7 separate regions of the Homo sapiens genome follow, and all the other regions are linked to region 1. Evidence: promoter capture Hi-C in 16 types of primary human blood cells and fetal thymus (Javierre and others, 2016). All regions are on one chromosome and are shown on one strand. The core of a region is centred on a gene start or on the middle of the fragment in contact, and the rest is flanking DNA. Distances in the headings are between cores, read along the strand shown.

Region 1 (2,693 bases), core at 62-2,561:
CTGAAATCTCCAGATGAACAACATTCTTCGCCCCATCTACTCTTCAGCTCCTTCAGGAGGCAAAGTCCTTTCTTAAACTGTGAAGAGTAGCAGCATAGTCTCTGCAGTGAGATTTTCTGGATCTGAAGCCCTAATCTACCACTCTCTAATTGTGTGGCTTGGAGAGATCATTTAATTTCTCTTAAGCATCAGTTTCTACATCTATAAAATGAGGGAAATAATAATATCTCTCTTATAGAATATATGGAAATATTCGAGGATAGGAAAATGCAGCAAAAAACTGCATTAAACCTGACCCAGTGTCTGACACATAGTAAGGACTCAATAAATGGCAGATACTATAGTCATTTGATTCATCATAGTAATACTGTAGAGGTGGTGGTGGTGGTGGTGGTGGTAGTAGTAGTAGTAGCAGTAGTTAAGTCATTGTGAACTCTGATACTAAGAACTGGGCTCTTGGAAATGGAGTGGGAGAACAGTAACACCAAATATATCCTGTATGCCAGAGGGTTGAAGAACAGACAGAACAGGTAGCTAAATGCAGCCTATTGAGGAATGTTTGAACTTTGGCTTTCTTTAATCATTGCCACATCTTGCTCCATAATAAGGGTAATTGTAATCCTGCTTCAAAGCTATTTCTAAGAAGAAATAGAGCCAAGGCTGGCATCCCTAACTCTACTCTCCTTTAGCCAGGCTGCTCTATCTATGGCAGTGTCCCCTACTTCCCCAGGCCAGGTTAGGAGGGAACAAGAGAGTCCACCCCAACTGCTTTAACAAGCCTGAACCGCCAGGTCAAGAGATGAAGTAATCTTCCCCCTATACGAAGACCAGAGGTGGGGATGGACAAGGTGGCCAAGGCAGCAGCTGAGGCTCAAGGAGCAGATACACTCTCAAGCCTGCTCCCTCCTGCTCCAGTTCCCAGCTCAGCAGGTGCCACTGAAGGGCTCAGTTCTTCAGTCTGCCCCTGCAGAGTGCTCTGCCCTTCCATGTTCTCTGACACCTCTTCTATTCACTCACCTAGGACAACTAAGAAAGTGGCCTCCTTGGTGAGTAGAGCTTCCACAGCCTCTCTCGGGGAAAAGGACCAGAAGCTGTTGGAGTTGGCCAAATGCTTGAAGTTGGCATAAAGTCAATTGGAACCATCACAATGAGAGTCTGTGTGATCAGCCCAAAAGGACTGCACAACTGATTCATGTTCAGTGCCAGGAAATGCAACGGGCCATTCTGGGGTTGGGTCCTCAGTTATTTTTGGCAAAGATGGGTGGTATGCAAAAGGGACTTCCTTTTTTTTTTTTTTTTTTTTTTCCAGCACAGAGCCACAGAATGCTGAGCAGTCAACAGCATTTCTTGTTCCAAGATCACCCTTCTGAGTACCTCTCTGGCTGCCAAATTGCCAGGGCCTTCACAGTTTGATTCCATTTCTCAGCTCCAAGCATTAGGTAAACCCACCAAGCAATCCTAGCCTGTGATGGCGTTTGACGTCAGCTGCTTCTTTTGGGTGGTGCTGTTTTCTGCCGGCTGTAAAGTCATCACCTCCTGGGATCAGATGTGCATTGAGGTGAGTCCAAACTGTTTGTCTTTATGCAGATTAAACTGTCTGAAAATTTTGAGATTTAGCACGCAGTCCAATCTGAGCCTTGGCATCCCAATATCTAGTGTCTTTAAAAAGGAAATAAGGTGTATATATAATTTTTTCATTATTGTGAGAAAGGAGCCAAAGAACTCTGCCAGGGGATCATCTGGTGGCATCTTAATAGGAAGCAAAGAGAATTTTTCTCCTCTTCAAACAATTCCACCCAAATAATCCCAAGTGGGTCATAAGATATTAATAGGGTCTGTGTGCACAAAGCAGACCCCTAAACCTGCCTCAACCTAGGGGAGCTGTTGGTTTAACATCCCCACTCTCACATGGCCTCTATCCCAATGAGTCCTTTGGTCTCCTCTCAGGGTGAGAATTAGTAAAGACAGCGCTGTGCCAGGTTTTCGAGCATTGAAAAGATCACTCTGAATGAGTCTGGCTCTCTCTTGGACTTGGACAGCCTTCCATCTGTTTTACTAACCCATAGGAGGAAAATCTGAGAATAGAGCCAAATTGCACCTTCTGTTTTGGACCATAGCAATATTTATCAACCTGTGGGAAGTTCTTGGAGGGGATAATGAGAGAAAAAGGAGAAGGGCCTCCGTCTCTTGCCATCCTCTAAAATGCTTCAAACTTCCTCCCACTTTCTCTGACCCCACAAGTGATCAATACCACGTGGCCTGTCAGACAAGGGCTGCATACAGGAGGAACCATGAGTCTTGGTGGCTTGGTGAGCTGCTGGTCTGGGTTGAGGTAAAAAGAAGAGTAAGAGCCAGGAATAGCCAGATGTGGAGTTGCCCTGGGGCAGGACTAGAAGGAGATCAGAGGATCAGGAAGAGCAGAGCAAAGCCAGCACTGGGGTAAGGCTCAGAGCTGGGTGAGCAGAGCCTTGTTGGTCTGGCATTAGGATGGAATCAGCAGCAGGCCAAGAGGAGGCATCATGCCAATGAGAAATGAAGGCTGGGAAGGTGTGTGTTGCTTTGCTTGGGCTGTCATAACAAATGCCACAGACTGGGCCAGGCGTGGTGGCTCACGCCTATAATCCCAGCACTTTGGGAGGCCAAGGTGGGTGTATGCCTTGAGACTGGGAGTTCGAGACCAGTCTGGGCAACAT
Region 2 (2,693 bases), core at 83-2,582, 1.3 Mb before region 1:
TACTTCATTCACTGGTTAAAATTAGGCAAACAACTGGACTGGCAATGAGGCTCCCTGAGGCTGGTGTCTGGTTATTTCAGTCACCTTACAATCAGATTAGATCTATCCACCTTGCAAGATTGCCCCTTCCTTGCCAACATACTAGAAACCAGTTTATCTGTTCAAATACTGCATATGGACCCAGACTCTGTAAAACCATGACTAGGATGTTTGATGTGTTATCTTAGGGTTTTTCTGTTTGTTGCTGTTTTGAGAAATAGACATGTAGGTGGTAACATGCTGCAGTAGAACCATCGACTTTGGAGCCCACTAGACAAGGCTTAAATTCTGCCTCCACTTGTGTGTCAGCTGGGTCTCCTCACTGTATTGCTTGACTCTGAGTATCAGATTTCTCATCACGGTATTTACCTTACAGACTGAGGATTAAAGGAGAAAGTTCATATGAAGTGCCTAGATCAGCACCTGGCACTGTACAAATGAGTCTCCCACTTGAAGAATATGGCTGGCTTTCAGAATTAGGAGAGAGTAAGCAGTAGAATTCCACCATGTAATGAATTCAAGGTCATGGCTATTGAAGGAAGGTATTGTCTTTAAAACGTCCCATGAAAAATAGCTTAGATAAACATTCTAGTAGATAAGCTTCAGAAAAGTAATTTTTAACCTACTCCAAACTAATGCCATGGTGTTCTCATTGTTCCTCTACTTTTATAAACAGTGGCATTACTAAATTACAGCCTAAATTCCCCCATGCATTTTAGTGGTGATCCAAGAGCATGCTCAGTTAAAAACATGGGTGGAAGGATTTAGGAGAGTTAGCCACCTCTCCCTACACAATATTTCTAGGGTGCAGAGACAACACTTCTGCTTCCTTTTAAACCCAGTATTTGCTTAGTTTTCAGAAAGAATGAGGCAGTCCCCAAAGGCATGTTGGTCTAAGCATAGAAGCACCATAGTGATGGCATGTTTTCCTAGTTTTACACAGTTGATTTATACCCACTGAGTGCATAGTATGTCTAGGGCACTGGTCATGTATTATTTCATTCAAACTCTACCACAACTTGATGAAGGAGTCACTATTATCAACTTCCATATATTGATGGAGAGGCTGAGGTTTGGAGAAAGTATGTTGCTCACCCAGGTCATGCAGGTGTCAGTGTGGTGAAGCCAGGATGGAGCCCAGCAGCAACATCCGAGCCCCTCCTTCTTCCTGCTGCCTCTTTAGTCTCTTTTTTTTTTTTTTTGTATTTTATTGGCTTTTCTGAATGTGGTAATAACGGGCAAAAGGGCAGGGGCAAAAAATCAAGGAACTTAAGGAATTCACTGAGATCTAAAACGTATTTATATCCACACAGTCTACGTTAACATGATTTTACTATTCCAGGATCTTCATCAGCATAACTTTACTGTTCCAGAAAACTCTTCCTCAAGAAGATAACAGTTACAAATAACTGTATTGTTCATTCCAGGAATTTCCCCAAAGACACATCAACTCGTCAATAGAAAGCATTCAAGGAAAATTTTAAAATTTGAGCATTTCCGAGTCTTTGCCCTCAAAATCTTCATCTTGTGTTTGCCCATTCTAAGTGATTAGATTATGGTCCTCACTAGACCCCAGCCAGGGCTCCCTGGCTCTCACACTAAAAGATACACATTGGAAAAAATCCAGACTTCACAATCTCAAAAATACTCCCAACTTTGCTCCATCCCCTACCTGCACCCCGAGACTCTAGTGAGATTTTTTGTAAATAGTGTTCTCCATTAACTTTAAGCCATCAGTTCTCAACTGGGGATGATTTTGCCTCCCAGGGGATATTTGGCCATGTCTGGCAACATTTCTGGTTGTCATGACTGGGGCTGCTCCTGGCATCTAGAGGGTAGAAGTCAGGAATGCTGCTAAACATCCTATAATGCACAGGACAGCCTCCTCCCCTAATAAAGACTGTCCAGAATCAACAGATTATTTTAATAATATTTTGGAGAGCCACTAATTAGCAATATCTCAGTTAGTGCTACGAAGAAGCTTCCCAAACTCTGAACCCTTCTGGTTATGTTTTTACTCTCTTGATTGCCAGTGTTCTTGCAGGTTCATGAGCCCCAAATCCATGAAGCCCGTCCTTAAGAAATTTCATTCCCAGAGGCTAGACTGCAGACATTTACCTACTCTTCTTATGATGGGGGTTTCCATCTCCTAAGATAGGATCACTTGGTGGCTCGGTTATTTTTTTTAAGACAGGGTCTTGCTCTGTTGCCCAGGCTGGAATGCAGTGGCGCAATCACGGCTCACTGCAGCCTTGGCCTCCCGGGTGTCAGGCGATTCTCCTACCTCAGCCTCCCGAGTAGCTGGGATTGCAGATGTGAGCCACCGCACCTGGCCAAGTTATCTTTAATTTCTACATTGTGTATTGTGTATCAGCTGTTTGAAATGATGAACCTGAGTCCACAATTTTTTTAGAAGATGCTGTTAACTATCTTAATAATGGCAGCATTCCTGAGGTTGTGAAAATGACTTTACTGAACAGGAAGCATGTTTTCCTTATAGACAAATAGCACGAATTCATATTACTTATAAAAGATACTGCCTCTTGAAATTAGCACTTTGAATTTCACCTTTTCGTCTAGATATTTCCACTGGTAACAAAATTTCCCTGGAAGTCAGTGTTTGGAGTTATAAGATCAATTTGTGACCCAAAAAT
Region 3 (2,693 bases), core at 97-2,596, 1.2 Mb before region 1:
TGCTGAAAATTCTATTACCAGAAAAGGTGAAAATGAATAGTAGAGGACAACTGGCAGGCTCTGCCACAATTTTTTAAAAAAATAAATTTTGGGGGGCGTTTGGTGGAATGAAGACTATGTATTTCTAAGAAGCAAACCAAAGATTTGTCCCTAAAGTACACATCATTACCTGTCCAGATACAAACACACGAATTTATATATATGTAAATACTTGAGCAATAGAATTATATTTTAAGTCAAGTAGACAGAGTAAAGAGTTTATTGGGAACATTTTTAAGCTATTTCTATAAATAGGAATGACTTGTCCTGGAATGTTTCCTTCAGGATTGCAATAATCTTCTGAGCCATTAAGTTAGTCAATGACCTTGAGCAGCTCAGCTAGGCACCAGATGATGAAATCTCTGATATCTCTGGGGTCCCGGTTGGCAGAATCATTTCAACTTAGTGCTAGGGAACAATGGCCCATGGACTAGCAAGTCTGCATATTCCCTCATAGAAGAGTAATCTATTGCGGGAGACTTTGACACCTAAGTTTCGGCAAGCTGTGGGGAAAGTATGAATACATGTGTGTTGGTACTTGTGCAGACTGGAAATCTGTCTTCAGGAATTAAATGAAGCACTGCATGAAATAAGGCACTTAATAGAAATTTCTGGTGCCTTTGTCGGCAAACCTATCCCTTGGGTGATGGTCTCTATCCAACAGAAATCAAAATAAACTTTTGGGTTTTCAGGTTAACTTTTTTAAAGGGGCATAAAACATTTTTATTTAATTTTGTTCTTTTCTCTTTTCTGTATCAAACAAGAAATGATTTTTTTTTTTTTTTTTTCCACCAGAGGTATTAAAATGCTGCAAGGGAGCAGCCTCTGGCTTGACCAGAAACACATAAACTTGAAACTGTGAATGTTGGTTTGCACATATGTTAAGTTAAAAGTAATGATATATTTTCAAAAGTCATTACATTTTTTAAAAAAACTTTGTTAGCTAAAGCAGAAAAGTAAAATTCAATTAGGAGCACACCTTAGCAAAAAAAAAAAAAAAAAAAAAAAAATCTTTTTACCTATGATGATCACATGCTTTTATAAGGGTCATCTCTCCACAGTCCCATAATCCCATTATAAGAGCCCTCTACAGTACATTTCTGAATGCCAAAAAGTTATTTTATTAACTGTGCTTAGACGAATCTATTAACAAGGTCCAATAGTCCCAGGCAAAACAACAAACTAGGAAGATGTTGTGCAAACATGGATGTGTTCTCTAATGTGTAGAATTTCTGTGATAGTTTTGGCTTTGTAATTTTGTACATTACTACAAGCAGTTCTGGACATGAAACAATTACCTTGTAATTGAGCTCCGCTACTCAGTTTCTATGTCTGAATTTGCATTTATGTTCCTATCCCTTTAGCATTACTGAAGACCAAACGGCATCATAGCATGATGAGTAGAAGCAGCATTCACAATTTAAATGAGGAAACTGAATAGTGAAGAAATTGAATACCCTCAGCAATTGGCAGCCCAGTCATGCCTTGTTCAAAGACTCAGTCACAGTGGTCAGCATCAAGACCCTGTGGCTAGCAAACATGTTAGTGGGCACCCATCTTTGTACTCCAGCACATCGAGCAGTTCATAAGGGGGCAGTACAGGTAGTTACAAAAAGACAGTGGAAAACTCCTTATTCAGTGGAATTCAATGGGTTTTTTCCTGCTAGTATTGCATTTTGAAACACAGTTTTAAGTGGCCCATGAACCTAATTGGTTTAAAATGAGTTAATTTTTTAAAGAAAAATAACAATAATGTCTTAAATAATGCCTTATCAAAAGCAAAAGAATCAAGTCCAAAAAATGAGACATAAAGCATGCAAATGCATTTGTCTTATTAAATCAATCTAGATGACTCTGTTTCAGTAAAACAGAACCATCCTTATTAAATTACTTTTGCTAATTTGAATTTATAGTTTTTATAGCTTATTTCTTTGGGATTTAGAGTTGTACTACAGGTGTGTACATGTGTTCAGTACCTATAAGCATTTTCGTAATTAAGTAAAATGATAAAACACTGAAAATCCTGAAATGTCAAATTTTTCCTTTAAAAAGAGACCATACAAATAGTTTGCAAAACACAGACCAAAAGGGTAATTTTCAGTGTCTCCTTTGTCTACATTTCAGCATCATTTCCCACCAGGACTTTCAGACCCACCTGCTTCCCTCCCACAATTCCTCCCACAATTGTTAAGGAGCCCCACAGCTGAGCCCAACCAGCCTGAGCCTCACCTAACTCAAAGTCACCCTTTCTGAGTAGGAGACAGACTTTAACCCTAATGAGCACTGGTGAAATGTCAGAAGGTTAGTTTAATAAACAAGGTACAATAAATGAAGAACATTAATTTATATTCAACACCAGAAAGCAGAGATGAAGCAGGTGTCAGTCGGCCGAGGGCCAATCCTATAGAGTGATCATTTAATACATTGAATTGGAAATGTCATTGTAGCAACTGGGGCACATAAGAAGGGTTCTTTTGAAAGTTTCCAATAATCAAATTTAATGTGGCCTATTATAATTTTGAGTCTTTCTTAAGGCTCACAAATTAAATTTGTTATCCATTTGTGTATATATTTTACTATCAAACAGCTTTTCATTTTCCTTGACTTTAATGGGCCCATTCTCCTCTCATTCTTTGGCTATACCCATTCCTGCC
Region 4 (2,693 bases), core at 77-2,576, 1.2 Mb before region 1:
GGACTCTTTCAGTCTTTTATGTGAGCATCCACTGAGGTCAGTGGAGACAATCCTTCATGAATTCACCTTCTATCTGTGGCCCCCAGAATTCTATACTTTCTCATTAGTCTACATTGGCCACTCTCAATCAATTCATTAGTAATTTTAGCTGAATTCTTCTTGCTGGTGGGTGTTCATTGTATGAGCCCTAGGAAAAAGGAGAGTGTTCACAATCCACCTCTTCTTGCAGTCACCTGTCTTCCTTAAATTGTGAGTTAGTTGGTTGACTTATGACCTCAGCTTTTTGAGAAATCTATAAAAGGTTATAAATATACAATTGTCTGACTTTATATTGCTGTAAGAATGAGATTGGAGCTCTTCCTAGCTTTCTACATTCCACAGGTAAATTGAAAACATGAATTATTATTTTGTTGAATACTTCCCTCCCATCTAAAGAGGAGTTTGAAATGGTGATTCTGAGAATATCTTTCTGGAACCCAGTCTAATATAAAATCCTTTTCCTTGCCCTTAATAGAGGAACCAGAAGCTTTCTGAAAGGAGAGAAGAAAGGAAGGATAAAATAGCTATAATATAATTCCCTGCTTAGCTTTTTCTTCTCTCCTTGATAGAGGTTAAGTGGGATATTAATATTTTCTCAGAGTCCAAAAACAACAGGTTTGAGCTACGAAAGCTAGACACTATCTGGGGGCCAGAGAAAAATGGAGAAAATCTTTAGCCACTTCTAAATTTTCATTTCAGTTTTAAGTGAACTGAAAAGAAAATTCTATCAAAAGTTCCTTAAGGAATTCAAAAATGTAGGAGAATAATTGATAGTATACATTTATCTTCTTTGCATCCCCCTTCTCAACCCCTGCCCAGTGCAAATGGAGCTCAAATTCACTACCCCTTTTGGAGAAGGCCTGAGTCAGGTCATGAGTGGAGGATGAAACACTGTTCCTTCCTGCCATTCACTTCTATTAAATGGTGGCATCCACACCTTGGCCATGTTTGCATCACAACACACATCGTCAGTTTGCTTTGACCCTGACACCATTTTATAGGCTTAATAATAATAAATCTATGTCCTGAAATAGTTTCACAGATTATAGCAATCAATCAAGATTCAAGGAGCCCAAGACCATTAATGTCATCAGCAGTGATCCAGCACCCCAAGAATCCATCTAAATCAGCCATTACGACAGAAAGTACACCTTAAGAGCCTGACGATAGAGGGAGTAGATGGAAACATAAATTGCAATTCTATTTTTATCAGCCATCAAGGGATGATTTTCTTGTGGAGGCTTTGTCTATTCCTGGTAGGAAATGAAACTAGGACTTGCTGATTCCTACTCCAAATGATAAACTGTCAAGATTTTGCTGGCCCTGGGACTACGAGCACTGCAGTGCAGTCTATAGCAGCCTGCAAGCCTAAGCACTGGGGATTTTTCTTTTGAAACTCCCCAACATGTTAAATCAAGGCACTGTATTTTGTCCCCTTTGTAGATGGCCCAAATGCTCACTCATTGCCATTGTCAAGAAAAATCCTAAAGGTACAATCAGCTGAAAAGGACTTGAGATGCAGACACATGGCAGTCTCAGACATGTATTTGATGGCTGTGGTTAATCATTAAAACTCTGAGAAATGAGGAATAGAGGAGAATAAAACGATTTTCCCTTAGGTATTCTGTAGTTTGAACTTTTCTGTAACTTCAAAAACATTTCTTGTAAGGCAGTATGGTGTAGTGAAATCAACTGAGATTGAAAAGTCAGGAAAGCTGAGTTCTAGTCTCAGCTCTCTCACTAGCTAGTTGTATGACCTTAGGCAAGTCATCTCACATTTATAGATCTTGTTTCTCCATCTGTTAAATGTACAATTGCTGTAAATCAGGTATTCTAAATCAGTGATGCAAGGACCAGATCTAGACGTAAATTTTTTTGTTGTTATTTAGCTTGAGTATGTGTGTATAAGTGTGTGTATAAGAGCTAAATAATGACTTAAATATCATTGTCGTAGTCTATGTTGTGTTGCTGTAACAGAATACCTTAGACTGGAATACCACAGACTGGGTAGTTGATTTAAAAAAATGGTTTATTTGACTTATGATTCTTGAGGCTGGGAAGTCCAAGAGCATATGGAAAAAGCTTTTGTGCATCATTCTGTAACAGAAGGCAAAAGAGCAAGAGAGCACAAGAGCAGACAAGTAAGATAGAGCCAAGCTCTCATGATAACTAACCCACTCCTGAGATAATGGCATTAATCCATTCCTAATCACCTCTTAAAGGTCCTACCTCTCAACACTGTTGCATTGGGGATTAAGTTTCCAACACATGATCTTTGGAGGACACATTCAAACCACAGTAATCAGTAAATTTCACATAGAAACTACCATTTCATAATCAGAGACACTGGCAATACTGGGCCATATCTCTACATGGCAGCAGTGGTATTCCTGGGTAATGGGTGCCTCTTTGGGTGGATCCTGCCCTCCTCTCCATGACCCTAGAGGCTCCACCTATTGCCCTACTCGTCCCTACCATCATGACTCATTCGTATTAACTGCCTGGCTCTTGTAGGTACAGATGTTGGCAACTCTTAGATTAGATAATCTCTACAGAGAGTACTATTTAATTTTTTCTAATAAAGCAAAATGTATGTTAAAAGACTTAAAATAAAGTCTATTAAAAAATATGATGAAAGCTAGAAGCCCCAAATA
Region 5 (2,693 bases), core at 64-2,563, 1.2 Mb before region 1:
AAGTATGTGATCCAGCGATCCCACATTTTATACACCCAGAAGAATTAAAAGCAGGATCTTGAGAAGACATCTGCACTCCCATGTTCCCATGTTCACAGCAGCATTATGTACAGTAGACAAGAGGCAAAAGGCACTCATTCATCAACAGATGAATGGATAAACCAAATGCAGAATGTGCATACAATGGAATATTATCAAGCTTTAAAAAGGAAGGAAATTCTGACAAATGTTACAACACGGATAAGCCTTGAAAACATTACGCTAAATGAAAGAAGCCAGTCGCCAAAAGACAAATACTGTATGAGTCTACTTATACGAGGTACCTAGAATAGTCCAATTCGTAGAAACAGAAAGTAGAATGGTGGTTGACAGGGACTGGGGGGAGGGGAAAGTGGGGAGTTGTTTAACGTATATGTAGTTTCAGTTTTGAAAAATAAAAAAGTTCTAAAAATGGGATGTTCTAAAAATGGGATGTTCAACAATGTGATTGTCTTTAACAGTACTGAACTGTACACTTAAAAATAGGGAAGACAGTACCTTTTGCTATGTGTGTGTCTTTTTTACCATAATCAGACATTTAAAAAATTACAAAAAATTGATTTTTTAAAGATAGGAGACCTTAACAGTGATAAAACAAACAAACAACAGCAATAAACCCTTGTCTTAACAACTTTATGAGGTCAGCTTTCCTTTCATTTTCCTGGTAGAGAAGACTTTTAGGAACATCAGCACAGGAGAAGGATTCCTTGGAGGGCCTGCTCTAAAGGCTGGTGAGTCTATTTAGTCAGGTTATTCTGGAAGCCAGCCAACATACAAAAAATACAACAGTTAAGATATAAATGCTCTGTTATGCTTCTCTCTCTCAAAAAAAAAAAAAAAAAAAAAAAGAATGAATGACTAAATAAATAAAAGGTGATTCAAAATTCTCTGGCCTGTTTCCAGGATCAAGCCTGGGGAGCCGCATTAGAGTGCCCACCCTGAGTGGTACTCCACACCTACACACTTCTCTGTTCTGCTGGTGCTGCCCAGGAGACCTGGGAAACTTGGCATGTGAATGGACAGTGATGGATAAATGAATCAATCTTTCTATTTTGCTTTGAAAGTACACCTCCAGCTTCCTCCTCTCTAGGGTGCCAGCCCTGCCCCCTCAGGCTGTGTTAGACCCTGCTATGTGCACCTATATTGTTCTCTGCATCTGCATACTCGTATCTCAGCATTTCTTGTGTTATAGTGTAATGACTTGGTACATCTCTCTCACCCACAGGTCTGTGAGATCCTTAAGAGCAAAGGGTTTCTGACCACTGCCATAATGCCTAGAATATGGCTGACAATAAGTAAACATCATATAATGACATCAGTGACTGGTTTTGCATTCTCAAGATGGGAATGCCCTTTTTGGACAACTAGATATGCACATGGAATAGTCCAGGTCATTTTCTGGCTCCGGTGGTGTGCTCGTGCTCAGAGCTTCTTCGAGTTCTACCTTCACCTTCCATGACTTGCCTCCTTTCTCCAATTATTCATCCCTTCCCTAAGTATGTGCCTGTGGTTTCTGTTTGATTTGTTTGGGTTTTACATGTCCTTATTAGTCATGTGTGGGTGTCCCTGTGCTGCTATTATCTTCTGAACTTCTCAAGGACAAAGTATCCAACACATTCTTTGTGTCTTCCCAGAGCACCCATCCACACACTGAGACAGCAAGTTTAAAAGCAGTTACTGTTTGAAGAATATCCAACACGAACTGCTGGGCTGACACCTCTACCTGCACGTGTTGCCAGGACCTCAGAAAGTGAACAAGTCATCTTTTCTCCGTCAACCAGCTCATTTTTCTGAATTCCTTGAGGGGTGGTGGTTTATGTTTTTGCTTTTCCAGAAAGGGTACTTTTCTTAATGGCACATATTCTCCTACATCCTAAGACTTGAATGAAGCCTTGCTATGATCTTTGAGCTTGACTTTCTTCAAACTTGCCCTATCTTGTCCCCACAGAAAATTTAGGCACTGACTTCTACTGATTATTTCCACAGAATTTTCTCCCTTTTCACCTCTCCCAATTGTCATCACCCCGTAGCAGCTGACACCTAGACCAGGGGCTTTGCATGCCAGTTTCTATCTGTCAGAGTGGCTGTCTAGGCAGAATAGAGTTTTGAAAAGACTCTGATGCCTTGTCTCGGATCAGCAGGAGAGAATATTTTAATCAATCAGAGGTGTCTGTCATGGGTATAGGAGAAAGTAGCTGTGGTCCAAATGCTGAGATTCTGTCATCTCTGGCCAAGATAAATGCAACAGTCTTGTTTTTTCCCTGACTCTTCTTTCGATGCGTTCTATACAATGACCCAAATTTGACACTTTTAATATAGCATTATGACATCTTGCCTCCTAAATAATAAGTGATACCTGGTTGCCTGCACCAGCATCTGTCAAGCTTCATCTTTCTTGCTACTCACGGCAAAATTCTCCAATGTCTTCCACATTTAGGCTCATTCATGCCTGGGAGCTGAGCTAGTCTAGACTAGGGTAGGAAGCATATCAGCTGCCTCAGCCCCTCCAGATGTGGGGCCTGGAGTTTATCTTGGCTGCCCACAGACTTGGTATCTGTTGTGCCTCGCATAAGCCCTGGGTGCCAACTTAGCCTCCAGGTCACACCACTTGTAATCTTTTTCTCATTTCCCCCTTCCTCATACCCTCAGACATA
Region 6 (2,693 bases), core at 51-2,550, 1.1 Mb before region 1:
CAATATTTTCAAGCAACAAAAACTGGGGTGGGGAAGCTTATTCTGAAGGTACATTTAAAACTGAAATAACAACTTAATGAAAATTAAGAATTGCATAGCGCTGTGAATTTAGCCTTCAGCAAAACAAAACAGAAGCTATTTGGTATTGATACAAATCCATCTATTTGATAGTTAGTCATCCAATATTATGTACATATTTTATATACTGAATGTCATTTTAAGTCCTGTTTTCCAAACTCCATTTTTCTGTTGCTGGGTTTTTGTTTTTTGACAAGTTAAACACTTTCTGGCACTTTCTATGACAGAATTTCTTCTGAACATACATGAACTGACATTCTCCCAAAGCGTCCCTTGTGAGTGGACGTGCCTTTCTGCTACATATCGTTCATTTGTTACAAAATGAAATAATCCACAGTGCGATGTGTCTGGGTCCACCGTGCACAGCAACATCCAGGCTAAACCAGGCTGGACCAAACCTTCTCAGGCCAGGGTTCTTCTGCCTCTCTCTCCTCCGCTCTCCAGAGTCCCAACTTTCAGCTGGTAAAGCTTCAGAAAGCATTAACAAGCACCATGGTTAAAGGCCTCTTTGTCCCTGCACGCAGAGATTTTTGCATTTCTTTTTCTCTTTGTGTTGTATGTGGTTGTGGCTTTAAATTAAACCAAAGAAAAAAAGAAAAAGAAGGGATAAGCACTCCAGCTTAGGAACGTGTGGTCATCATACAGCCTTAGGCTGCATGTCTTCCCCTACTTCTTTTTTGTGAAAGAAAGCTCTAGTCCCATCCAAAGAAAGATGGCTTCGTTTCTGCAGCTCAATTCACAGATCAGACTGGAGAGGAGCCCTTTGCTTTCCAGAGGCCTCAGGGTGGCTGAACTTCAGGAGAAGGATCAAAGAGTAAGCGCTTCATCGCCTCTGCTGTGCATATACTGGGTAGGCTAGTGTGACATTGAGGGAGTCGTTGTGCTGCACAAGGGAGGTGTGTTGGTAATGTAGCACCAGTTCTTTCAGAGAGCTGTACAAGTTATAGGGCTCGGCAAAGCCATAGCCAGTTGCTGTTTTGTTTATGACACAATGCTTTACTTCGCCGTCCACCCTAGAGAGGAGAGAAGAAAAACTGTCTTTTGAGCTTGTCCAAGACAATTCACAACTCTTCAGGGCATCTTTAATAAAAAGCATTATTGTGCAGTCTCAACTTGGGGAAAGGGTCCTAGGTTACAACTGACACCTGGCCGAGTGCCTTGGGTAGGTAACCCAGCTTCACTGACTGACTGTATTTTCATCTTTAAAATGGTTTAAAGGGAAGACAATAGTAAAATACATGTAATACAGTTACTTTGAGAAATGAAATGAGATCATGCATGCAAAATGCTAGATAGAATGCCTGACATGCAGTAAGCATGCAACAAGTGGTAGCTTCCAATCATGATGAGGACAACTATCTGCAGTGCTCCATGACTAGCAGTGTTACTATTACTCCCATTATGACTATTCATAGGATTCCTTCTTTCTGGCTGTCCTTGAGGTGTCTGCACAACTCTCCATCTCTGCATGTGCCCTTATGCACAGTAAGGACAAAAGTACCCTTCTTTGCTGTAGGACTATTTCTCTCATTAAATGAAAGGTGATCATGGAGTGTAACATACTTTTAGAACCATTCCCTACTAGAGGACATTAATTTCTTGGAAATGGTGATGTCAGTGATCCAATGTGGGTGTACCTATCTCAAGGATAATGATCAGAATCCTTTTTTTTTTCACCTGTTCCTGATGAGTATTTTTCCTATGGGTGATGTTCTCACATAAATTACCTCAGATTCTAACTATAGTAGCCTTGAGAGGCAAAAAAGGCAGGCACTGCCACTTCCATTTTAAAGATGAGAAAAAAAGACTTGGCGATTTCTCATGATTAATTAGCACTGAATGGGAATCCAAACCTAGTCTTCCAACTAAACAGTAGGTATCTATTAGACTGTATTAACATACACTTCTGGCTAGACTTTAAAATGGTATTACAGCTGCTTTGGTTTCTCTTCTACATTATTGTACTGTAAGCTTATTCAAGACTAAAACTATGTCAAATCTTTGCCCCCAAAACTCAATGAATGAATAAATGAAACATCTCTTCATGAGATGTTGTAAAGAAAAGTTTGCTGGAGATACATACACTACAGAGCAGGCATAGCAGCCCTGTTTACTGCTCTCCCGGACAAGAAAAGTGCCATCTCGCTTCCCTCGCAACAGGTTTTCAGCTTTGTTTCGGTTGCTGCTTCCAACATTCCATGTCTTCTCATCATGATGGGGCAAATCTTCATCATCTTCCACCAGTGAATATTGGCTAGGCAGGCAGGACAGAAAGTTTCTAAATGAAGAGTGCAGGAGCCATCAGCCTGCCTTGCTGTCTTCCCTAGGCATACCCCCGTCACTTCCCTCCTGGCCCCTACCAAGCCAGTCAGACTGGCCATCACATGCCTGCCTCTGCCCGACCTGAGTTTTCCTCTCCTGGTATTCAGCCTCCAGTGCAACCTCCCAGGACAAAGAGTTACCAATCAACTGTACTATTTCTGTTTTCAAGCAACCACACTCAGGTACCTGGGCAGAGTGGAAGGTATTAAAACAATCTCGTTTATCCAGTTTAGATCAGGAAATTGACTAGGCAGATTGCCAGTTTTTGACTAATTCAAACAAAGTATATACTT
Region 7 (2,693 bases), core at 131-2,630, 1.1 Mb before region 1:
ACATATACAAGCACCTCTACATCTCCATGTATGTTCAATGAGGTTCCCAGAAGAGAAAAAACAAACCTGGAGCTAAAGAAATCATTTCACTGTAAACGGCTGCTGGAATGACAGGATTTGGTAAGTCCAGGAGATAGCGTTTGAAAGCGTCAGCCAAAACGTGCACATCGATCATTTCCAAGTCCACGGAGGGTGTATCTAGGAAACAATTTAAGAAATATTTCAGACATTTATTTTATAGAATACATCAGTTGGGCTAATTTTCTGAACAATTTGACTCACATGTGACAAAAAAAAAAAAAAATAAGGAAGCAATATGAGGATAAATACAAGACACAAAGTATTCGTTAGCCGTACTTCTTGTAGGGGTTGCTCCGGGCATTTGGGGTAGAACAATTTTTCCTGTGGAGGTCTCTCTGACATATTGCAAGCACTTAGGATGCCTGACCCCCTGCCCATGATGCCAGTAGCAGACCTCCACACTTTGGGGCAACAAAAAATAATGCCTTTGTTATGGGCTGAATTGGGCTGCATCTTCAGTGGTTACCTACCCCATCCTCTGTCCCACCCCTCTAAGCCCAAACTCCTAATGCCTCAGAAAGTGACTGCATGTAAGTTAAAATGAGGCCATTAGAGTGGACTCTAATCCAATGTAACTGATATCCTTCTAGGAGGGGAAATGAGGACACAGAGAGAGACACACTAGGGATGCACAGGCACAGAGGAGAAACGCTGTGAGGATGCAGTGAGCAGGTGACCATCTACAAGCCAAGGACAGAAGCCTCAGGGGAAACCAAACATGCTTTTTTCTCGGACTTCTAGCCTCCAGAACCACGAGAAGTAAGTTTCTGCTTTTTGAGATGGAGTCTCACTCTGTAGCCAAGGCTGGAGTGCATCTCTGGTGTGATCTCGGCTCACTGCAACCTTCACCTCCCGGGTTCAAGCGATTCTCCTGCCTCAGCCTCCTGAGTAGGTGGGATTACAGGTGTGTACCACCACGCCTGGCTAATTTTTGTATTTTTAGTAGAGACAGGGTTTCATCATGTTGGTCAGGCTGGTCTCAAACTCCTGACCTCGTGATCCACCCGCCTCAGCCTCCCAAAGTGCTGGGATTACAGGTGTGAGCCACTGTGCCTGGCCAAGTTTCTGCGTTTTAAGCCACGCAGTCTGTGGTAACTTGTTATAACTGCCTGAGCAAACGAATACAGAACCCAAACATTTCCTAACATCCTCTGAGGGTGGTTCTGCCCTGACTGAAAAGGGTTCTAACTAGGAATGGTTAGTCATATAGTAAATGTTTCCTAAAACCTCAACAGGAAAAATTTAAAAATGCATATTCCCAGATTTCCTAAGACTTGAGTTGATATGTCTCAGAATTCATGTAAATGTCACCAACAGAGTGATGGATTCAACAGTAAGATACTACAGACTTTTAGCAACCAATCTCAAGAATATCCATGAAAATAATTTGAACATTTTTAGAATGTTTCTCCCTAATTCTGTCTGAGTATTACTAATCTAACCTGTGGATATCAGACAATCTCAGAAAATAAGATGAGCATACCTGTCCAGTAAATCCCTCAGCTGGGAAACAGGTCAAGCAATCCAATAATGGGGGTAAAACTAATCAATACCACCCTCCAGGCACTCACTACGCATGGCACTCTAAGTACTTGGGTTGGAAAAAGACACAATGCCCAGCAGAAGAAAGGGATGCTAGAAACAAAGATCTGGGGGCAGGGGTGACCATGGGCCTCTAGAAAAGGAGAGGACTTTGGCTGCTGCTGAAGGATGTACACTAGCAATGCGAAGGATAACTTGAGGAAAGTAATCTGGGGACTTGTGTACTCAGTGGAGCAAAGGTGGGCTGATGGGCAAGATACTACGTTTGTAACAGCTTTACTAATGACAGTGTTAAGAATAAATTGGAAGGGAGTGCTGCTAGAAGTAAAACTACCAGATTTAGTTCTCTGAATCAAGGTGATGGGGGTCTGAATTCTAATGCAGTTAGAAATGTACAAAATATTATCGAGACCTCATATAACTCGGTGATTGACTGCATTGGGCTGTGGCCTAGGAGAGAATGAGGAAGTATGAAAGTTTACTGCAAAGTGTTTGAGTATAAATGAGTGGGAGAAGGTAGTATCCTAGATAACCTTGAATGGAATATGACAGTACAAATCATTCTAGGTTGAGCCTAAGACTACAAAAATTCCTTGGACATATCATCATAAACCAAACTTGCCCCACTAGGTAGGCCGACGTTCCGAAAGTGAGTCACACAACCACACAGCTCTAAGAAAAGTAGGTCTGGAATAGGATATGGATAGGTCAACTTGAGGAAAAGAATTATTAAATTTAAAAGGTGAAGAGGCGAAGTGTTAAATCACTTAAATGTCCTACAAACAACCAACCAGAGACATATCACATGTTTAACAAGTGTGGGAGGGGCAATACCACTGTAGTAGATCCTCTGCATAAAGGATCTACGTTGAAGGTAATGCAATTGTGAGCATAATTAAATACTGTCAAATAAAATTGTGTGTGTGCTGCTATAGGAATTCTCTATGGTCACCACTCTTGGCCGTGCTTCTGGTTTCCCATACACTTTGCCCCGCATGTTTCATCTAATGTCTCTCTGCCCGGAAAATTAATATTACCGAATTTGCTTATCCTAAAATATGTGATAAAAC

What was found. The method cuts DNA at HindIII sites, captures the fragments that hold promoters and counts their contacts. A CHiCAGO score of 5 or more calls a contact.
Region 2: a fragment that was not itself captured here is called in contact with the fragment with the promoter of CD180 in region 1 in 1 of 17 cell types (non-activated CD4 T cells); the score reaches 9.2 in non-activated CD4 T cells.
Region 3: a fragment that was not itself captured here is called in contact with the fragment with the promoter of CD180 in region 1 in 1 of 17 cell types (M2 macrophages); the score reaches 7.8 in M2 macrophages.
Region 4: a contact is called between a fragment that was not itself captured here and the fragment with the promoter of CD180 in region 1, in 1 of 17 cell types (monocytes). The highest score is 5.5, in monocytes.
Region 5: a fragment that was not itself captured here is called in contact with the fragment with the promoter of CD180 in region 1 in 1 of 17 cell types (monocytes); the score reaches 5.4 in monocytes.
Region 6: a fragment that was not itself captured here is called in contact with the fragment with the promoter of CD180 in region 1 in 3 of 17 cell types (activated CD4 T cells, non-activated CD4 T cells and total CD4 T cells); the score reaches 5.4 in activated CD4 T cells.
Region 7: a contact is called between a fragment that was not itself captured here and the fragment with the promoter of CD180 in region 1, in 8 of 17 cell types (non-activated CD4 T cells, activated CD4 T cells, naive CD8 T cells and 5 more). The highest score is 20.1, in non-activated CD4 T cells.

The regions. Positions count from the first base shown.
Region 1 is chr5:67,195,417-67,198,109 of GRCh38, reverse strand. CD180 (CD180 molecule) reads left to right here and starts at 1,311. Exons shown (of 3, transcript NM_005582.3): 1 at 1,311-1,558. The coding sequence starts at 1,469. RefSeq lists an enhancer at 2,338-2,487. The HindIII fragment of the contact is 10,485 bases long and covers 1-2,693 here.
Region 2 is chr5:68,457,075-68,459,767 of GRCh38, reverse strand. The region is part of intron 3 of LOC105379013 (a long non-coding RNA gene); the gene reads left to right. Among named protein-coding and RNA genes, the nearest start is that of PIK3R1, 240 kb to the right of the region's middle. The HindIII fragment of the contact is 1,381 bases long and covers 642-2,022 here.
Region 3 is chr5:68,416,106-68,418,798 of GRCh38, reverse strand. No RefSeq gene overlaps it. Among named protein-coding and RNA genes, the nearest start is that of PIK3R1, 200 kb to the right of the region's middle. The HindIII fragment of the contact is 4,501 bases long and covers 1-2,693 here.
Region 4 is chr5:68,385,896-68,388,588 of GRCh38, reverse strand. No RefSeq gene overlaps it. Among named protein-coding and RNA genes, the nearest start is that of PIK3R1, 170 kb to the right of the region's middle. The HindIII fragment of the contact is 1,595 bases long and covers 529-2,123 here.
Region 5 is chr5:68,367,363-68,370,055 of GRCh38, reverse strand. No RefSeq gene overlaps it. Among named protein-coding and RNA genes, the nearest start is that of PIK3R1, 150 kb to the right of the region's middle. The HindIII fragment of the contact is 2,224 bases long and covers 202-2,425 here.
Region 6 is chr5:68,295,810-68,298,502 of GRCh38, reverse strand. It overlaps PIK3R1 (phosphoinositide-3-kinase regulatory subunit 1), which reads right to left. Exons shown (of 16, transcript NM_181523.3): 15 at 2,162-2,332; 16 at 1-1,091. The coding sequence ends at 902. Among named protein-coding and RNA genes, the nearest start is that of PIK3R1, 81 kb to the right of the region's middle. The HindIII fragment of the contact is 1,503 bases long and covers 549-2,051 here.
Region 7 is chr5:68,277,107-68,279,799 of GRCh38, reverse strand. It overlaps PIK3R1 (phosphoinositide-3-kinase regulatory subunit 1), which reads right to left. Exons shown (of 16, transcript NM_181523.3): 5 at 67-198. Among named protein-coding and RNA genes, the nearest start is that of PIK3R1, 63 kb to the right of the region's middle. The HindIII fragment of the contact is 4,294 bases long and covers 1-2,693 here.